Linked DNA regions of Homo sapiens: all the other regions are linked to region 5. The links are contacts of gene promoters, found by promoter capture Hi-C in human tissues and cell types (Jung and others, 2019). All regions are on one chromosome and are shown on one strand. The core of a region is centred on a gene start or on the middle of the fragment in contact, and the rest is flanking DNA. Distances in the headings are between cores, read along the strand shown.

Region 1 (2,700 bases), core at 120-2,619, 320 kb before region 5:
AATATAAAATCAGGCAGATGGCATTCTCAAAAAATCCTCAATTTAGAAGTCAGAAGGTTTGTCCCTTAATATTTAGTGGTCTTGGGCAAGGATTTCTTTAAATCTCAAATGCTTTATCTATGAAATAGAGTGATAGTACCCCAGTTGAGGGCTCAGGAATTGAGTTAACTATAGTCATTCAAAAGTTGTGATATCTCTTCAGGCAAAGGAGTAACATGTTAATGTAGTCATTTAAATAATCTTTATTTGCTACCTTGTAAAGTAGCTTACAATATCTTAGAGTCAGGGCCGTGAGTTTTGGCTACTGAAAAAGCTTACGATATTTTTATGAGCAAAAAGGATTGGGTTTTGCATATACACAGACATTAACTATGACAGCCTCGAAAACAACTCATTGCTTTTTAGCCACTAGTATGAATTTCAGCAGAGAATACTTCTGCTGTTATCATTTCGGCCTAAGTTAATAAAATATACTGATCCTTAGTCTAGTATCTCCAGACTCCAAACCTTACACTTTCACCATACTTATCTTGACCAGAAACAGAAGAAATGAAGAACATGAACTTCCCTCTTTTATAGTTTTAAGACATGTTTATATAAAAAACCCGAAACAAAACAAACAACCACTCTTCCAGAAAATGAGCACGTCAGTGTTTTGCTCTGTAATTCCAGAGCAAAAAATACATCATCTTTATATAGCTTAGGAGCAATCTATAGACAATTTACACTGCCTATGGTCTTTTCTTAGTTTTTAAGCCAGTCTTCTTTGATTTTCCACTGAACAACAGATTTGACCTCACATCCTATTTATTTTAGGCAGTGTTTAGTCTGATGAAACCACATAGCAATTCTGAGTCTAGGCAAGGTATAAATTTGTTAATACCTGGACAACCACCAAAATAAGAAAAAGAATACAATGTTCTGACATAAGCCAATAAAGAGATCATGTTTTCTGCTCTACCAACAGTACATCCCGTCACAAACTAAGATTTCCTCTCTAGTTTATTTCTCACTTTCTGGTGTTCATTCTCGTCCATTCAACCGATACTTCTTGAGCACCTACTCTGTGCAAGGCATTTTAGGTGCCAGAAAAATAACAGTACATAAACCAAAGGTAGCTTTCCCAGTTCCCTCCTGGAGCTCACAAGCTGTTGAGAGCAACAGGCAATAGGAAATCAATGAATAAACCGTGGTAGTGCCATGAGGAAAAAAATGACCCCATAGGAACTAAAAAAGTGACTTCCTTCCACTCTCTCCTGCCAGCGTTAGAAGGCCTGCACTCTCGGGTAGACTCTCATCAGCTGGCTCTGCATCACATCCTCTCTACTAAGGAGTTTCTTCACTGTTAAGTGGAAGAATTTGACTGGATGAACAAACGTGACTCAGCTCTTCTATTTCTGAAAGTCTGTGATTCCCAGCAACTATTTTTTGTTTGTTCCTGTATTCGTGAGGGTTCTCCAAACATCACTGTTACATCACAGTTCCCCCTACTCCTGAAAATGTTGGAAAAAAAGCTTAAACAGTCATCACTGTGTATGCAAGTTCGACTGTCTTAAATGACAAATTCCCCAAGGAGCAGATTTCAACATGTGGCCCCCAGCCTATGATGCCCGTTCCCTTGCCTGCTCTGTCTCCTGGCAGGGGCTGAGGAGGTGTGGGCGGAAATGTTGAGATATTTCAAGCCTTTCTCCTTCTGGGGAATGATGCGTGAAAGCTGAAAAATCACTGTCTTCCTCTTGCATTCATTATCTTTTCTCTCCAGAGGTAGTTCTCATGATAGAATAAGAAGAGCAAGTTTTTACATTCTCTTCCTGAAAACTTTCCAACAACGTACCAGGACAAACATCCTTCCAGTGCAGCTTCTGAAGAGATTACACGTACATTTTTTTTTTTTTAATTATTGGACCAAATCATTTGTTCTCACTTGAAAATCTCGAATGTCATTTTCTGGCTTACAAGTTAGCTTGTAAAATAGGTCTACGTGAAAAATGAACATATCTGTTGATTAAAGCCCTTTTGCTCTGCATTAAATCTGTGTTCCTGTTTTGGGTACAGAATGAAAATCTGCCTTATTGTGTAGGTCGGTTCTAAATGTTTTCACATCATCACTGGCCGGGAGACATTGGAGCTCCTTGCACAGAAGGGCTCATGCCCGGCACGGGGACATCAGTGACACCAGCGCATCTGGGGCTCCGGTCCTGATTCTGACCCTTGCAAGGACTGTCAGCAACAGAATAAGCTTTCTGAGCTTCTGACAAATTGGAAATAACAACATTTGCCCTGCCTTTCTGAGGGGACGACTGTGAGTTTCAAGTCGGCTGATTATAAAGTTCTTGGAAAAATGAAAGTGTTACACAACATGAGATAGTGTTCATGACAGCAGCATGTGTGAACATCACTTACTAAATGCTATTACTAGTGATATCTGCTATACACAGAGCATGCTAACTTACAGGAATGCTGAACACTGAGCTGCCACAGAAAGGGTCCCCTCTCCCTAAAAATATGTAGAAACGCTAGGCCTACTTAGAACTGATATTTTTAAAACTTGGGAAGAGAAACTCTAGGTACTAGGTAAGCAGAAAGACTCACAATTAGAGAAATCAGTGGGCACTGGACCTAGACATAGGGGCTTGGGTTTTAATCTCCCATGGGGACACAGAACTTGGCCTTTGGTCTACATGATGGAGAAAGAACAGT
Region 2 (2,700 bases), core at 185-2,684, 300 kb before region 5:
AGCAATAATAAGAGGTCTGGCCTATTTAAAGCGTGGAGGAAATAATTAAACATAATGATGGGGGAAAGGATGGGGAAACACATTCAAGGGAAATAAAAATGAATCACTAGCCCAGCATAAAAACTAGCCTCGGATTAAAGTGGGGGCTGGGCAGGGAAGAAGCTACACACTGCAATAGGCTCTTACTTTGAAAATATCTTTCACGTCACATTTTTAAAATATATTCAGTGATAAACTGATTTGAAAAGCAAATTCTTCCTTAGGCTATTATTGTATTTAAAGTAATGCATTTTCTTTGTGAGAAAGCTTTTACAAATACGGGTCTTTCAGAACAATACATAAACACCAGGAAAGGAGTTCGGTCATGTACATTTCGGCTTCTATGGCCTGCGGTTTTAAGTTGGATGGCAATCTTCGTACCTGCATGATAGGTCGAGTCCAAGTTGTGGTTCGATTGTTATGATTGACATAGTATGTGCGCCCCTTAGCATCTTTTCTTTCTTCCCAGCCTGAAGGCAGACCCGGCGTGGTATGTACATAGGCCACTGATGGCTGTTTGTGCAAGAAATCATTATTATTTAATACCTTGCATTTGTTTTCTGATCAGTTTAATAAAGTAAGGTACACCCAGATAATTATTTTCTCTAGACAAAGTTAATTAGATCTATTTATATAGAAAACACTTACAAGTGTCTGGAAAACAGCAATAGATTTCCAACAGCTTCAAATCTACTGTGAAATGAACCCCATACAGTTGCAGAGTCCAAATTCTTACAGAACTTGGTTCTAAGACCCCGTAGTCTCAAACGTAAAGGGTTGCTGCCAAGGTGATCACAGGGAAAGGGAAAAACATTATCATCTGTTCTAGCTACTAAATTCCACTGCCAAACCAGGTAGAGCTTAAAGGTATTTCAAACTGTCCAGTGTCACTGTGTATGAGAGGGATGCTCTGAGTTTCTCCTCGATGTAGCTCCCATGGGGTGCTCTTCTAGCTTAGGCCTACATTCCTCCATCAGCTTAGGACCCTAACACTGTAGCTTCTGGGGCAAAATTTTAAAATCCCAACACAGAGCCCCTTCTCTAGGATACTGATGGTCACACAGTAGCATATAATCTGGAGGACCACCCAGGACATCTGTGTGCCCCAGCTCAGGAAGTCTCCCAGCACCCAGCCTCACACCCCAGGCTATGTGCACCCAAGTCTGCTGATAGGAGTGTGTTTCTTTGAAGGTGAACACAGCTTGGCAGTTTTTGGGTTTAGAGACCTGCCCCGCATAGAGTGACTGTATTTAGACAGTCCACATTTGATCACAAGAAGATCCCTGAGAAGCAGTCTAAGAAATGCAGTGTGGATGGAGAAACACTGAAAAACAAGGATGTGTTGATGATGTATGGAGGCACTGGGACAGATGCTGGAGATCAGGGCTGTCCCAGGAGGGCTTGAATGCATAGGCGATGCATGTAATATCTGTGCCTGTGAAAGAGCTCTAAGTGGGGAAAAGCTCAGAAACCAGAAGCCGACCACAGCTATACCACGGCTCCTAGGGGAATCTAAAGGTATAGGAGGAGCCCATGCCTTAGGAATAACCTCTCACGTGAGGTTACAAAAGGAAGCTGCTTCTTTTACTTCCAGATATTTTAGCAGTTGTCGTTTTCTTGCTATTAGGCTGAGGATACAAATTTCCTCTGAACCTAACTTCTTCCTGTGCTTATGCCACCTTTTCCCTGCACTACCAGCAATGTGTCTTGGTGAAGGTGGTCACCTGGAGTTCCCTGGTGGACTCCAGGATCTCAAATTAGAGAAAGCACCAACAAGGATGCTGCCGGGTAATTTGAAAACCCCATCCACAGAGAAGCAGTATGTTAACCTCCCAGGCTTAAAAGCACAATTCAGAGAAAGATCACCTGGGTAAGATCATGAAGCAGCTGATTTTAGATTATGTGTAAGAAAACTTTCTGCTGATATTAAGGAAAACCATTTCCTTAATATTTCCCGAGATAAAGTCCTAAAGCTCCCTAAAGATAGTTTATAAAGACACAAAGACTCGGATCATGGAGCATTCTGGATCCAGGTGTGGAGACTCAGCAGGAGCAGAAGAAACATCAACACTGACTTAATCCTTTCATGAATATTAAACATCGATGAATTAGCATGCAGCCTGAGTGAAGCTCCTTCCTCCCCTCCTCCTCTAGCAGCGATGCCAACACAAAGAGCTACGTGGATCCGGGCACTTCAATGGACTCCCCTGCTGAGCTAAGTTGTAACCTAAGTTCCTGGTCAATTAGTATCTCTGGCAAAGTATGTGCTATCAAGTTTTGACCTACTATTGTTTATACAATCAATGAAATACTAAATGGAATGTGTTACATTCTCAGCTCCCTCCGCCCAGAGCCCTCCCCTTCAGCCGTTCTGGTGATCCACTTCCCCCTCTCCCAGGCCCCTTCCCTCCCATAACTCCCCACTCCCCCTGGCCCCGCCCCTGGAAAACTCAGCTCCGGAAACCTTAGCTCTGGAAACCTTAAGGATATTTTTGCAGTTACTCAATCTCTGGAAAGGACACTTGGGAGGCAACTGATCAACTGAAAGCACATGGATGTGTCATAGATCATGTCAGAACTGAATCCTAAAGCTGTATGAATTCTAGCAACCAGGTTACTTTGTTTTTTCCTTTTTGAGACAGAGTATTGCTCTGTCGCCCA
Region 3 (2,700 bases), core at 94-2,593, 270 kb after region 5:
TTTTTCAATGTTTTTCCTCCCAGACCCCCTGCCCGGATGAAGTGAGTTGTAAAATGCTGCCTCTGCCTCTGAAAGTTCTGCCAGAAATCCCACCCTTTCTGTCTGCACCACCTTATTAGCCTCCGCCTTTGGCCCCTGTTGCCAGAGGACAGTAAGGACTTTCTGCACTCTTGTCTTGGCCACAGATTAACACCATCTTTTCCTGGAGTCCTTGGTCAGGGTTATCATTTCTTTCTTTTCTTTTTTTTTTTTTTTTTAAGACAGAGTCTCGCTCTGTCACCCAGGCTGGAGTGCAATGGTGTGATCTTGGCTCACTGCGTCCTCTGCCTCCTGTGTTAAGAGATTTTCCTGCTTCAGCCTCCTGAGTAGCTGGAATTACAGGCATGCACCACCACACCCAGCTAATTTTTGTATTTTTAGTAGAGATTTGTTAGTAGAGCCTCTGCCTCCCGTAGTGTTGGAATTACAGGCATGAGCCACCGCTCCAGGCCTAGGGTTATCATTTCTAAAATGCAAATCTGATTAAAACAGTTCATGTTGTTGAGGCCCCAGCCTCTTTGCACAGATGGATCCTGCACTTCTGCTCCCCACCTCCTCACCTCTGCAGGTGCTTCAACTTCAGGAACCAACTCACTTCTTCCAGAATAGCTTCCTAGGCCCCCTTCCCTGCTCTATGTCCTCATCGTCCCTGTTACTTCTCCATCACAGCAGAGAGGCTTCTGTGCGCCGAATTCCTAGGGTCTGCCTTACCTTAGACTTTAAGCTTCATAGGGACAGGAGCCACGTTGCTCACCAGCAGCTGACTGAATACCTGCCACGAGGTCGGGACGTGTTGTTTACTCAATGCATGGGAGAACTCAGATGGCCTCTCCCTGCTTAGCACACAAATTCCAAATGCCGCTAGCACCCAAGGCCTTCCCAGCCTTGCCTCAGTCTGCTTTCCAGTCTCCTCTTCCAACTCTCTTCTTCTTCCTCCCCTGTCTACCCGCACTTTAGTAACTGAACTAATCCTGTGTGCCTTCAGTGCTGCAGAATATTTGCCCCCAGGGATTTCTTTCCAGAAATGCCTTTCTCCTCTCACTTTCTATCTCCCAATCAGATAGTGGCCCAGCTTGGGACTTGACCTTCAAGGCCAACTCAGCATCCCTCCTGTCTCTCTCCATCCCTGATCATCAGGTATAATTGACTGCTTTCTCCTCCACTTCTCCCGCTAGCAATACTCACAGTGAATGTCATGGTAAGGTGTTTATTTGCCACTGATGGGCGGGTAGTAGAGGAACAATGGAATTTTACATTTTAGGAGGCTTGTTCCTTATAATTATCTTAGCTCTTTTATAAAGCACTGATAGGTAACAAAATTACAGGTTTGAACTCAGAAAGCTTGCAAAGTTTTTGTTTTTGTTTTGTTTTTAGGATAACTTTAGGGAGATTTCTAAGTATTGTATAGGTTCAGTTAACCAACATAACATGTTTTTTAGGAGTATAAACATTATAGAGATGTCTGCCGACTAATTAGTATGTCGATTGTAGTTTTAATCGTGAAAATTGGGGTGGGAACAGCTAAAGGCAGAGCTAACTGGTTTTTTCCCAGGTATTTATCATGAGTTGTGTGCCTTAGGCTGTGTTCCCTTTTGAATGTGGTTTTTCTGGTTGTTCTGACAGCACTGCTAAGTGTGCCCTTTGACATTACTGGAGAACTAATTTATATTGATGGTGCCACTCATATCTTTGGAAACTGGATATGTTCTGATCAGCTCATTGATTTCTAACCTGTAGGATTACAGTAAAATTTAGACCTGAGGCACCACCCAGAAACTCCTGCTGCTGTATGTGGCCTGAATGAATCAAAATATGCTTGGACAGCTCATTATTTAACAGAAAACTCTGCCTTTGGCTTTTGAAGAGCAGATGTCCAAATGTAACTTGTCAGCCTGATTTTTGGAAGCTTGAGCAAGGGGAACCTGGTTATCTCAGACCATTTCGTAATTATAAAGAAAGTGAATTGAAGGATCAGGAAGTAAGTGAATTGAAGGATCAGGAAGTAAGGGAATTGCCTAACAATAGGAGATGCACCACGCCCAGTGCTGAGAGAGGTAGACTATATCACGCTTAATAAAACTGTCTGAATGAGTGATGGACTACTCCCATATCCTCTAAAGGAGGTAGTCTGACTCCTACAGAAACAGCTCCATTTTGATTTTAGGAGGTGGTTGTGATATAAGACTTACCATCTTAATTCTGCCATCAGTTGCAATCAGCATTAATTGCAAATCTCTTTCTGACAAAAATTCAAGTCCAGGCAGGGTGCAATGGCTCACGCCTGTAATTCCAGCACTTTGGGAGGCTGAGGTGGGCAGATCACTTGAAAAGGAGTTCAAAACCAGCCTGACCAACATGGTGAAACCCTGTCTCTACTAAAAATACAAAAATTAGCTAGGTGTGGTGGCACGTGCCTGTAATCCCAGCTATCAGGAAGCTGAGGCAGGAGAATCGCTTGAACCTAGGAGGCAGAAGTTGCAGTGAGCCGAGATCGTGCCACTGCACTCCAGCCTGGGCGACAGAGCGAGACTCTGTTACAGAACAAAACAAACAAAATTCACATCCATGTTTCTAGAAGAACGGTGACTTTAACTCGTATCTGACTGTCCCTTTGCTGTTCTGTCCTTAACATTGGGGCATGTTGACATGTTTTCACCTACA
Region 4 (2,700 bases), core at 139-2,638, 440 kb before region 5:
ATCTCAAATACAAGATTCTTTATTCCATTATGTTAGATTCCTAGGGCTGCCATAACAAATGACCACAAACCAAGAGCCTCACAGTGATAGAAATTGATTGTCTCACAGTTCTGGGGGCTGGAAGACTGAAATCAAGGGGTTGGCAGGGTTGGCTCCTTCTGCAGGCTCTGAGGGAGGGTCTGTTCCATGCCTCTCCTCTGGCTTCCGGGTTTGCTGGCAATCCTTGGAGTTCCTTGACTGATAGACGCATCTCTTTAACTTATGTCTCCAACATCACATGATATTCCCCCTGTGTGTCTCTGTCTTTTGTCATCTTCTTATGAGACACCAGTAACAGTGGATTGAGGGCCTCCCCTGCTCCAGTGTGACCTTATTTAAGAAATTCCATCTGTAATGATGTGATTTCCAAATAAGGTCACATTCTGAGGTTCTGGGAAGGACGTGACTTTGGGGATGGGGTGGGCAAGGATGCTACTCAACCCCCTATATCTATCCAACATGAAAAGGATAGCGAGTTTCTGCAATGGTGATCCTGTTGGAGAGATGGCCTACAGCTCCAGATTCAACCCTCAAGGCAGCGGGTGGCACATGTCGCATGTAAGGTGGGTCACTAGCAGGGAAACCTGCACTTCCCATTGCTTGGGTAGAGGAGAGCTTGATGTTATTGAATTCATGTCCTTTGAATGAATCTGGGATAATCAATCTAAGAACACAAAGGATGTTGCCCTATTTTTCTTCTTGGGCAAGGGCAATGGCCTTGGTGATGGCTGTCAGTTTGTGAGAACGGGTCAAAGCAGCAGCCCAACATCCTGGCTGAGACAGAGGCCAAATTGAGAAAGGAGGAAGATTTGTAATTTCTGTAAATGCTAGGTAGCAAAGAAAAGTCTGCACCTGAGAAAGACAGGGAAAGGGAAGTTCAACACTGTCTGACAGGCCAAGTTGAGGGTCGAAAATTAGAGAAAGAGATGTTCAGAAATGTGGCGTGGAGACAAGGTAGTGCTGAGCATGGAGCTGGGCCCCATTCATTTTGTTCTTTCAACATTTATAGAAAAGCCTCCCCTGGACAGGCGTTCTGGGCATAAAGCAGTGTCCTGAGAGAGATCATAATCTGTGCAGAGAAGATGGGGCGCATACACCCCTAACTCTGAGAGGGGTGTCTAGTTCTCAAGAAGATGCAGGGAGGAGGTTGGAGAGATGTCCTCTCATGGTGCGGAGAGAGCCCACTGGAGCTGGGGCTCGAAGGTAGCTAAGGGCTGAGAAAGGGTCTCTGAGATGGTGCAGAGATGCCTTTGCTCTCTGGCCTCACCAAGCCCAGGCACAGCCATCTTAGCCTCTGCTGCCTGACTCCAGCTTTCTGCGAGGGTCTAAAGAAAGAGGTTAAGTGGAGGTGGAGAAGGAGGCAGATTCCTGAAAGAAGTCTACCCAGGGGCTGCCCAGAAGTCACGCTCCTTTGACCCAGCTCAGCTTTTTCCATTCCAGAGGTGGAGACTATTAGACAGGGGCTCTCTTTTTACCTGGCATTAACACCTGCCGGCAAGGGAGTGCTTCAGGACGAAGTGGTGATCTTTCTGGGAGGTCACAGTGTGAATTAGTTATTTTTCTCTGCAGAGACCAGATGTTGTCTGAATTTGAAAAGCCTCGAGGCAGTCCTGATGCAAATGACCGGGACTTGTTTCCAATGTGCTCAGACAGGGAAGCTGCCCCTGCCCACTCGTGACACTCCCCATTTGAGGAGCTCAGGAGTTGGTGTGAAGCAACCGGGGTCCCCCCCCAGTGGCAGGTGGGATTAAACCATCCATCCTGACGGAGCAGGCCCTGCGTCTCACCAGGGAGAGAGCGCTCAGGCATACAGGAAACACTGACAAGCTGACATTTCAGCCTTTCAGGGAGCTCCTGCAGAGGAAGATAGAGATGTAAAAATGATACCATTAGCAGTAGACGATTTCCCACTCTGCCAGATTCAACTCCTTTCTTTGGTTGACCTTTTCTTCAACGAGAAAGCTTGGCTTTTAGAAACCAAGTCATTTTTCCCAAGGCCATGGACTGTGGGCTCCCAGGGGCAGAGCAGTCCCCCAGCCAGGAGGAGGAGGGGCAGCTGGATTTATAACAATCACGGCAGGGTGGAGCTGCAGGCTGCCGCTTTAGCTTCCGAGAGGAAGGAAACCTTTCACGCCCTTAAGAGCTTAAAAAACCCAGCTTGGATTGCACAGGGAAAAAACTCTCTCCATTCAGTCCAGGTGTGTCGACCTCTATAGTTTCTACCAGCCAATGAAGGAGGCCTGATTTCTTGAATCATAACAGCTACAGAATCCGCAACATGCCAGCATTACAGACTTCTTTTTGCCAGTTTGCCTTTGGCCCTATTAAGCAACAACGGCCAGCACTCTCTCCCACCGGGCAGGGCTGGTTTCATGCGTGTGCAATTTGTGCACAGGACCTCACACTCAGAAGGGCCCTGTGTTTGGTTTAATGCTCTGTGCTTGTTGTCTTGAAATTCTTACTACTTTTTGAACAAAGAGCCTGTTTTCGTTTTGTACTGGGCCCTACATGTCACTGGTCCTGAATGCCAGGCACCCTCTGCCCCTACCCTTTACCTGGAAAATCCCTCAGCTTTGACTCTCAGCTTCAAAGTCTCTTCCACAGGAAGCCCGCATCAGTTGCATCAGTTGTAATGTTGATAATTATAACAACACGATCAAC
Region 5 (2,756 bases), core at 228-2,727:
AACCACTCCTACCTGCTCCATCCAGCCTGCCTGTCACGCCGCGCCCGCGACAAGCGTCCCACCCCCCTTTTTGGCAGAGCAACATACCAATAAGAGCCGAGCGTGGCTGGTCGAGAGAGGACTAGGCAGTGATTTAGCAGGATTGTTTCAAAAGGGGGGAGTGGGAGACACGGAAGAGAGAATGAAGGTAAAAACAAAGCCCTTTCCAGTGAAACCGACCGCCTGGGAGGCGTGGCTTATTCAGTCGCTTTATTAATAAAAGAGATCAATTAAGCTTTCCTCTCCCCACCCACCCTGGAGGTGCCGGGCTTTGAATCCTCGGGAGGAAAAAATGGCAGGGCTGCAAGCTTCCTCCCCAAGTTTCCAGGAGCACCTGCCACCAGCCTTGAACACCTCCCCCACCGAGGCTCCGAAATCCACAATCCTGGCCGTAGACTTTGCAAAACGAGGGGAGGGACACACGCAGCGTGTCCCCCATTCCCGCCGGGATAAGCACGCACAGGCTTCTGAGCGCCTGCTGATCCACACAATCATGAGAGAGAAAGTTCCAGGGGGAAACGATCCGGCTTCTCCGCAGTCCCGGGTCTCCAGCCGCGCGACCCAGACGTGACATGCATCATGGACTCCCGGGCTGCAGGGGCGAGAGGCGGAAAGTTGCCCAACAGCCCCGGGAGACGCTGCTTGGAGAGGAAGAGGGAAGAGAGGCACGCATGCCCCCTCCCTCTCCTCCCGAAAGCGAGGAGCTGCGGAGTGAACCCCCAGCTCCAAGGGCGTCGCGCCGCTTTATTTACAAACAATGAGCTCGGCTTGCGGAGGGTGGGGGGTGCGGAAGGACCCAAGCTCCCCTGGATCCCGCTCCGGGGCGCTCCCGCTTTGGGGCTCCCCTGCAGACGCTGGGCACGAGCACCCCGGGGACGGCCCCTTTCCCCTCCCCCTGCCGGCGCGGGATAGGAACTCCCCGGGGAGTCCCGAGCAGGAAGGGGGTGCCACTCACCTCGTCTTCGGAAAGTCCATAGACCGGCTCCCCGAGCCCGGTCGCCATGGAGCCGGCGCCCCGCGCGGGGTCTGAGGCGCTCCCAGCGGCTGTGCTGCGGCGCGGACGGCCGGTTCTCCCCTCTGCCTCCAGGTCCCCCCGGTCCCGCACCCTACCCTGCGCACGCCCTGCCGGGTAAGCGGCCGGGCGCCGGCAGGTGAGGGTGCCCGAGAGCGCGCCCTGGACGCTGCCGGCACCGCTTCCTCCCGGAAGGCTGCGGGACCAGCGGGCGGGCGGCTCCCGAGAGCGCGCCGAGCACCGGGCGGCAGCCCCGGCGCCTCTCACTGCGCGCGGCGGCGGCGCAGACCCGGCCGGGCTTTCCCTCCCCGCGACCCGCGCCTCCCTCCCGCCCCGCCGCTCTCCGCCCCCCTCCGAGCCTCCTCTGCGCTCCCGGGGACCCGGCTCGCCCGCCTCCTCGCTAGCGCCGTCCGGGCCCCCGCTCTCTCCGCCCCCTCCTCCGCCTCCTCCCACCGGCGCCGCGAGGGTACCCTCCCCGTTCGCCGGGGCGGGCACACGCGCCCCCCAAGCCAATCACAGGCCGGGCTGGCGAGCGGGCCGCGGGCTGCGGGGGTGGCGGAGTTCAGCCCCACGCCCACCCCGGCCCGGGGCCTCCAGCGCGGCGCGGCGGGGGTCACCCGGCCGCGGGGCGGATCCGCAGGGGCGTGTACTGGCGCGCTTGGCCGGCGCCGCCGACCCTCCCTCCTCTCCCGGTTTCCCTCCGCTTTAGGGAGGGGGCGGGCTGGACGTTTGGGGGCGATAGAGGATTTTGCGAACAATAACAAAAACGCCCTGAGCGTTTCTTCCTCCCGGTGGTCTTTTTACCGAGAGCCCTGAGCTCGCTGTTAACTGTGAAAAGGGGAAAAGATGGATGTTTCTAGACCCCTTTAAATTCTTTGCGGCCCCGACGAGCAGGACTTGGCTACATTGTCAGCTCCCGGGAGCGAGCCGCCCGGCCCGGCTGCCAGCCGAGGAGAGGCTGCCCCAGTGTGGCCGCAAGTCGCCATTGCCTGTGTCAACCTTGCAGGGAACAAAACCAACATAGCGCCCGCCCCGGTTACACACCCACCCACGCGAAAACAGACAGCATGGTTCTTTGAATAAAAAGCAGTTCATTTGTGAGCCGCAACGTGAAATATCAAACTCAAGCTTAAGGTTATCCTTTGCATATGCAAATGATCGAGACGTCTTATTAGCCACCGTAGGATTCTTCCCACCACCCAGCTACCGTTTCTCTAGCAAGCAGTTCATTTAATCCTTCCGATTTATAGGACTGCAAGAGACTACTTTAAATAAGTGAAAGAAATTCGTCAGTCGACTTTTTCGGAAGCCTTTCCTTAAATTTAGATGTTAAGTGCAGTTGGGAGTTCAAAAAGAAAACAGACGCAGAACATTCCATTTGCCTTTGAAAAGGAAACGTCAAAGTGCCTACTTGGGTATTACCAGGATGCATTTAGGATTTTCATTCAAGGAAGTTCAGAGAGAACTCGCGTGACCCGAAGGAATCATATTCCTCGTTGCCAGCTACATAACTAAATATCTGCTGTTCGCCCTGCTAGTTCGTTTTCAAAAGAGCCCACCCATGCTACCTTAAGCTCTCCTTTGCCTTCCTGCAGCATGACTGGCTTAAAACCTGTGCCGTAGAATGGGTTTCCTTTGACGACTTAGCCCCATGGAGTCAACATCCTACTCAGAAGCCTTCTCTAGAAGTCTTGAGCCGTCAAGT

Evidence for each region. The method cuts DNA at HindIII sites, captures the fragments that hold promoters and counts their contacts. A contact is called where the count stands out against the background at its distance.
Region 1: a contact is called between a fragment that was not itself captured here and the fragment with the promoter of NEDD4L in region 5, in 4 of the 25 tissues and cell types used here (dorsolateral prefrontal cortex, hippocampus, mesenchymal stem cells and 1 more).
Region 2: a fragment that was not itself captured here is called in contact with the fragment with the promoter of NEDD4L in region 5 in 1 of the 25 tissues and cell types used here (mesenchymal stem cells).
Region 3: a contact is called between a fragment that was not itself captured here and the fragment with the promoter of NEDD4L in region 5, in 3 of the 25 tissues and cell types used here (mesenchymal stem cells, spleen and thymus).
Region 4: a fragment that was not itself captured here is called in contact with the fragment with the promoter of NEDD4L in region 5 in 1 of the 25 tissues and cell types used here (mesenchymal stem cells).

The regions. Positions count from the first base shown.
Region 1 is chr18:58,361,082-58,363,781 of GRCh38, reverse strand. The region is part of intron 19 of NEDD4L (NEDD4 like E3 ubiquitin protein ligase); the gene reads right to left. Among named protein-coding and RNA genes, the nearest start is that of MIR122HG, 84 kb to the left of the region's middle. The HindIII fragment of the contact is 3,377 bases long and covers 1-2,700 here.
Region 2 is chr18:58,338,890-58,341,589 of GRCh38, reverse strand. It overlaps NEDD4L (NEDD4 like E3 ubiquitin protein ligase), which reads right to left. Exons shown (of 31, transcript NM_001144967.3): 14 at 421-552. Among named protein-coding and RNA genes, the nearest start is that of MIR122HG, 110 kb to the left of the region's middle. The HindIII fragment of the contact is 3,349 bases long and covers 1-2,700 here.
Region 3 is chr18:57,770,759-57,773,458 of GRCh38, reverse strand. The region is part of intron 1 of ATP8B1 (ATPase phospholipid transporting 8B1); the gene reads left to right. LOC124904310 (a long non-coding RNA gene) reads right to left here and starts at 2,367. Exons shown (of 2, transcript XR_007066388.1): 1 at 2,229-2,367. The HindIII fragment of the contact is 5,328 bases long and covers 1-2,700 here.
Region 4 is chr18:58,484,859-58,487,558 of GRCh38, reverse strand. All of the region lies in intron 12 of ALPK2 (alpha kinase 2), which reads left to right. Among named protein-coding and RNA genes, the nearest start is that of MIR3591, 35 kb to the right of the region's middle. The HindIII fragment of the contact is 9,694 bases long and covers 1-2,700 here.
Region 5 is chr18:58,042,947-58,045,702 of GRCh38, reverse strand. NEDD4L (NEDD4 like E3 ubiquitin protein ligase) reads right to left here and starts at 1,477. Exons shown (of 31, transcript NM_001144967.3): 1 at 995-1,477. The coding sequence starts at 1,042. RefSeq lists silencers at 843-1,392, 1,413-1,782. The HindIII fragment of the contact is 3,203 bases long and covers 1-2,756 here.